Regions from separate parts of the Homo sapiens genome. Here region 1 is linked to region 2. Evidence: promoter capture Hi-C in 16 types of primary human blood cells and fetal thymus (Javierre and others, 2016). All regions are on one chromosome and are shown on one strand. The core of a region is centred on a gene start or on the middle of the fragment in contact, and the rest is flanking DNA. Distances in the headings are between cores, read along the strand shown. Region 1 has its middle 35 kb from the start of ALG10. Region 2 holds the start of PKP2 (plakophilin 2).

What was found. Contacts are between HindIII fragments. The CHiCAGO score rates a contact against its expected background, and 5 or more counts as called.
Region 1: a fragment that was not itself captured here is called in contact with the fragment with the promoter of PKP2 in region 2 in 1 of 17 cell types (endothelial precursors); the score reaches 5.5 in endothelial precursors.

Annotation. Positions count from the first base shown.
Region 1 is chr12:33,986,409-33,989,441 of GRCh38, forward strand. No RefSeq gene overlaps it. Among named protein-coding and RNA genes, the nearest start is that of ALG10, 35 kb to the right of the region's middle. The HindIII fragment of the contact is 1,914 bases long and covers 509-2,422 here.
Region 2 is chr12:32,895,291-32,898,113 of GRCh38, forward strand. It overlaps PKP2 (plakophilin 2), which reads right to left and starts at 1,487. Exons shown (of 13, transcript NM_001005242.3): 1 at 1,219-1,487. The coding sequence starts at 1,441. RefSeq lists silencers at 1,486-1,595, 1,796-1,895. The HindIII fragment of the contact is 4,432 bases long and covers 1-2,823 here.

The DNA.
Region 1 (3,033 bases), core at 216-2,715, 1.1 Mb after region 2:
TCCCTCATTGGATTGTTAACAAACTTGGAGAATTTGTGAAGTTATAGAGAAAGCAAGATGAAACAGAGAATAATTATTATAATCATCATTATCTCAGCCATATTGAATTTACCCTAAAAACTAAATTAATTATATTAAATATATAAGCCAAAACAAAACTGTTAATCTCCCCTTTCTCCAAAATTTGGCCTTACTTCTATCTTCCCCTTAGAAAACAGATCCACCGCTTTTATTAAACCAAAAACCTGAGTTGTCCATGAATCCTTTCATTCACAAAACACCCACATTCATTTTATTAGCAAGTTTCACCAGCTCCACTTCCAAAATGTATCCCAAATCAATTCACTTTACCTTCACTTTACTCTTATTTCTACCACTCTTGTCCAGGCCACCATCTTTTATAACATGGACTACTCAATAGCTCTCCCCACCTCTAAATGCCTTATTCACTCAGGAGCCAAGGTAATCTGGCTAAATATTAATCAGATAACATAACTCTCCTATTTAAAGCTTCCTAGTGTCTTAGAATTAAATCCATACACACTTAAAAAGAATATCATGACCTGGCCTCTGCCTACCTTGTAGGACTTCCCCTTCCACCGTATGCTCCAATCATATTGTTCTTTCTGTTACCTACTATGTAGGGTTTGCCTTAGAGTCTTAGTTTCTAACAGATAGAACAGGTCTACTAACTGTTCTCTGATAAGAAACTTCTTCTATTTAATCTGGGTATAGCTGAAATGTCACCTCTTCCAAGAAGTCTTTTTCTTATTCTAGTCTCAAGTGGCCTCCAAATCACTCTCTATTACCCTATTTTAATTTTCTGTATAGTGCTTATAGTTGTCTAATATTTTTCTTTTTTTATTTTTTCTCTGTATGCATTACGTGAGAATTTTGACCTTGACTATCTTGATTGATGCTTTAACCCCAGAACATAAAACAATGCATGATAGAGTGGTACTCAATAAATATTTATAAAATAAATGAGTTACCAGATGGTAACTCAGATGTCATTCTTTAGAATGACAACATGGGATTCTTGACCTTACAAGATGGTCATCAAAATTCACCCTATAACTTTGTTTCTATAGCTGCTCTTAAGATTCCTGAGATCACTAAAAGAAATAAACAGGACCAATTGCACATATCTTTATTTCTTTTTACTCTTCAGTCAATGCTTTGCAACAAAGACAATGACTATGATATCTGACCCTCAGGAGCTCTGATGAGAATCTACTCTTGTCTAATTCACTAACCTAGTCACAAATGACTTTTGGCAGCACAGGCAAGAGCTCTAAAAGAAAGCAAAAATCCAGAAATTATTCCTAGCACATTTTGAATATTTATGAACTGTTACTCATGGAAGTAACTATTAGTAGCTCAACGCCATGAAAAAGAATTTTCTATACAAAAACACAGGTAACAATCACAATTCCAAAGTGGCATAAAATGCTTTTGCTATCCTGACTTCTTACAACCATATCTACTAGAAGTTTTTGACTAGACTATAATATTATATTAGTAAGTTTGAATTAGTGAGAGAGAAAAACTCATTGCCTTCTAATTCTATCAAATTCTGCACAGTTGCCTAGATTTACTCCTTTAGAGAATTGTAAGGAATCAACAGATTTTTTTTTAACTTTCCCTGGGGATAAAGTATGACAAACTTCATCAATCTAAGAGAAAATAGTCACGATACCCTCTCCAGTAATCACCAACTTCTTCTTGGGGTATGGCAGAACATAAGAAGCACTTTGAGAAGCAGGGAAATATTAACTTTTAATGTATTTGGGCAACAAGATTTAAAGTCATCTGAATTAGCAGGATATATTGTTCGAGGAACAGCTGGTGGCTTTTAATTAGTGCTTAGTTTAGAAGTACAAAGTTGAATGTGCCTTAGTTTTGTTGGTCTTTTTCCAACTGATAAATCATTTCCTGTCTCCAGTGAATTGGTTTAGCTTTGTCTTACTATAGGTATAATTGTGCGTTTTACTCCCAACTGAGCCATGAATCAATAAAAGTTTATAAAAATCTTTGTTTTTAGGCTTAAAATATGATCTTAAAGACTACACTGTAGACCACTCAGCTTTTATTCACTATCCCGCTGACATTTTTAGTAATGAATCCTCAACCATTTTTGGCTTTCCCTTTCTATTCCTTAGTCACAGTCCATGTCTCCCTTAAAGTGTTATTTCTTTTTCTAATTCCCCATTCCTCTCACCCACTGTCACAGTCACAGATCTTTTTCCAGAAAACGTATGAGCTGAGAAACATTCTGTATTTATCACACAGATGCCAAAAGAATAGATAACCCTTGATAAGAAAACACATTAAAGTGTCATGTTCTAGGAAGTTCTTGGATTATAAATCTTAATATATATGTAAGAAAAATAATTTGCCATTAATTATAGTTATTCATTAAAGCTTTCTTAGTCAAACAAGCATCATTAAATTTATAAATGATACTGAGTTAGTTTGGTCAGTTATCCAGTTAGAAATTTGCTCCCCAAAGATGGCTCTTCAGGTTGCAAATACTAATTGGCTTTCAGTGGGTAACAGTGAGTATGCTTAGTTACACATTTAAGGAAAGAAGCCAGGCAGCTGGACTCCCCACTACTTAACAATGGTATTGTGTCTAATCCAAAAGTACTACTTGACAGGAAAATCCTTATTGTCACGATTGCTCATGGTTGATGGTGTTTTTCTAACAAAGTTAGCTATTCACCTGAGGGCATCTTATTTCACACAATGAGCAATGACTCACAGGAACTGGGAAGAAAAAGAAAACTGACGAATTTCCTGAATACCTCTGCTACTGCTATATAATTAGCATTTGGCTATATGTATTATTTTATTTTTAGATGACGTTTTAGGGAACACTATTAAATCATAACTGGTAGCCAAAAGGACGTGGCCCGTAATCATGCTAAGAATAGAAGAGAAGTGTAATGCAAATTCAAAGAGTTGAATAATGTGATTTGAAACCTGGCCCTGACATGTATTAATATTTCATTTTGAAAACTGCATAATCTG
Region 2 (2,823 bases), core at 237-2,736:
TCTCTTTACCTTTCAAGTATGTTAATATTGACTACGTCATCCTTTAGGATTCTTTTACACACACAGTACAGCCTCCCAGACTCTGCTGTTTGAAATCTCTGGTCTGGCCTGTTAGAATTTTTCTGTTTTCCTAATAGAAACTAGAATGGGTTAGCCTACATTCGCCAATGCCCAAGTTACTTCATACAGAAACAACTGAACGTTGCAGGAAACAGATATTCCAACTTAATTGCTCAATTTCTTTCCTCTTCTTTTTGCTATAAGCCAACATAGTGCTTTTATAATGCAAACTCACATACACAGCAACAAGAAGTAAAACAAGGGTCACTGAGTTGATCCCATCACCTGACTTCAGCAGGGGAGAAAAGGATACATCATGATCTCTAATTTTCACAAGTGGCTTGCCATCTTCTTTCCCTTCCACCTCCCCCGTCTATCAATCATGAACATAGTGTGCATGTGTGTGCTTACACCCCTTTCACCTTCGGGTTTAATTTTTTGGAGGGATCAGACTTGCATCACGCCCGCACTGGTGGGGGTAGGAAGCGCAGCTAGGCGGGCACGGCTGTTGCCGGCAGGGCCAAAGTCCCCTACCTCCTCCTCGGCGTGTTTGTTCCCTGGACCAAAGCCTCCTAACTACTTTTCTTCACTCCCTAGATCCACCACTCGCCTCCCACACAGGGTGGAGCGCCCCGAAGTACTTGCATAAGACAGCACAATCCCAATTTATAGGTTGTAGGAGCGCCAGTGCTGTCGGTTTTTTTCCCCAAGATATTTATGGGGGTCATTAATTATTTAACAAATCTAATAAAATTGAAGGGCTCCTTCTCCCAGAAAAAGATCGTACACACCAAAAATTCTGCATAGCATCTCAAGGTGTTTATAGACTCCCTGAACCTTCAAATTAAGTCCGCACCAGTGAGGGGCGCGGACCGGCGGAGTAGAAAAAGAAAGGGGTGAAATCTTGAAGTGAGTTAGTTAACATTGATAGATATGTACAATATTTAATATACATAGGTACCTATATGACAAAGCTGAGTAATAGGTTATGGAAAAGAGTGCTTTCCACAAGCAAGTCGGTCATACCGAAGACGGCGAGCAACAGGTGGGCAGAACACGGGGTCCCGCACTCCCAGCACGCGGGGTGAGGGCGGGATAGGAGGAGGTGACCGGGTGTGGGGCAGGGGGCGGCGCCGGGGAGCGGCGGGCTCCACTCACCGTTGCCCACGGAGCTGCGGCCCTTCCGGGCGAGGGTCTGCTGCACCTGCTCCTGGATCCGCAGGCTCTTGACTGTCTGGCCGCCGCGGCCGCTGCTCCCCGCCAGCTTCAGCTTGGCCTCGGAGGGCAGCGCCAGGCTGGAGCTGTCCAGTTGTCCCAGGATCTGCTGGCCCAGGACGGTCCGGATGTAGCCGTACTCAGCTGGGGCGCCGGGGGCTGCCATGGGGCCGGTGGGGGCGACCGAGCTGCTCGCCTGCCTCTGGACTCGCGGGCGAAGCCGCCACGGAGCTGGGGGCGCTGGCGCGAGCCCCGCCCCGCTCGAGTCCGGCCCCGCCCCTGGCCCGCCCCCCGCGCCGGTGAGAGGCCCGGGCCGGGGGGGAGCTCGGCCTCGTGGGCCGGACGCCCGGCCTTCCCTGAGGAGGGGGCGCGGCTCCGGCCGGGCACGCGCAGTCGGGCCCGGGGGCGGGGGCGGGGGCGGGCCGGACCCGCTGAGCGCGCGGACACCTGGAGACTTGTACCCGCCCGCGGGGAGGTGGGGAGAGGGGCGCGGTTCGCCTGGGGTCGCGCACGTTGTCGGAGTCCCAGCGGATACCGCCTGCCGGGGCCGCGCCCCGCTCTGCCCACGCCCCGCGCTGGACAGGATGGATTTCCGCTCGATGCAGGGAGGGGCTGCCCTGCAGGCAGGTGAGCCCTCGAGAGTCACTCCTGTTCTTGGACTGAGGCTTGCCTCCGGGATCCCCGAGCGAGTAGTATGTCTGGTTAGTCAGGCTTTGTCGCACTGTTGGAAACGTTTCCTGGTTTTCCTGGACCTGAGGGTGAGAAAGGGCTATTTGGTCAGGCGGAAAGGGCAATATGAGGGAAATGTGCCAAGAAGATAACGTGTGAAATAAAAGACTTTCTAAAGAGAGTGTTTTTTTTCTTAGTACAACGTCAGGACTATGTACTTTTTGCACAGATGCAGTCCCAGAAACATATGTTCTTCCTCATTGAGAGCTTCTGTTTTCTCTTGGATACACAAATTGTACCCAGTACTCTTGCTAACCCATTCCTCTCTTACGAACACACCCACACAGAGAAACTCCAACAAGAGGCTCTAGAGAAGAAATGAATTTTAATAGACGATGCTTTTTAAATAGCCCTGCTAACGTTGATTAAGTCCTCTTTATTACAGGCTCTTTGTAGAGAGATCCACGGAGAGGGCCTCCAACTTTCAATCGAATCTTCCACAACTTGTATTTATCGTGCTATTAATTATGTTTCACCGCAGTTGACTACTGAGAACTTGAGAGCTAAGCTCAACAGAAAGGATCCTTGACCTTAAAGTTTACAACCAAAGCCACTTGTCCTGATTTGCCTCTTTGGACTTAAGAGGCAGAAAGAAAAACATGTATCCCTGGTATTAAGATAATATTCCCTTTGATTGCTTGGGTTTGTATGTTCACTTTCCCTCAAATCACTCAATTGCTGCAAAACCCCACTTACTCAAGTCTGAAGTGTTTGGAGAACGCAGCTTCCCTCGTCTTTGTTTTCCTACCCACACCCTTCTGCCTTTAGACACACACTGAATGCTTAGACACACAATGCACAGGTATATGGCCTCCCTTT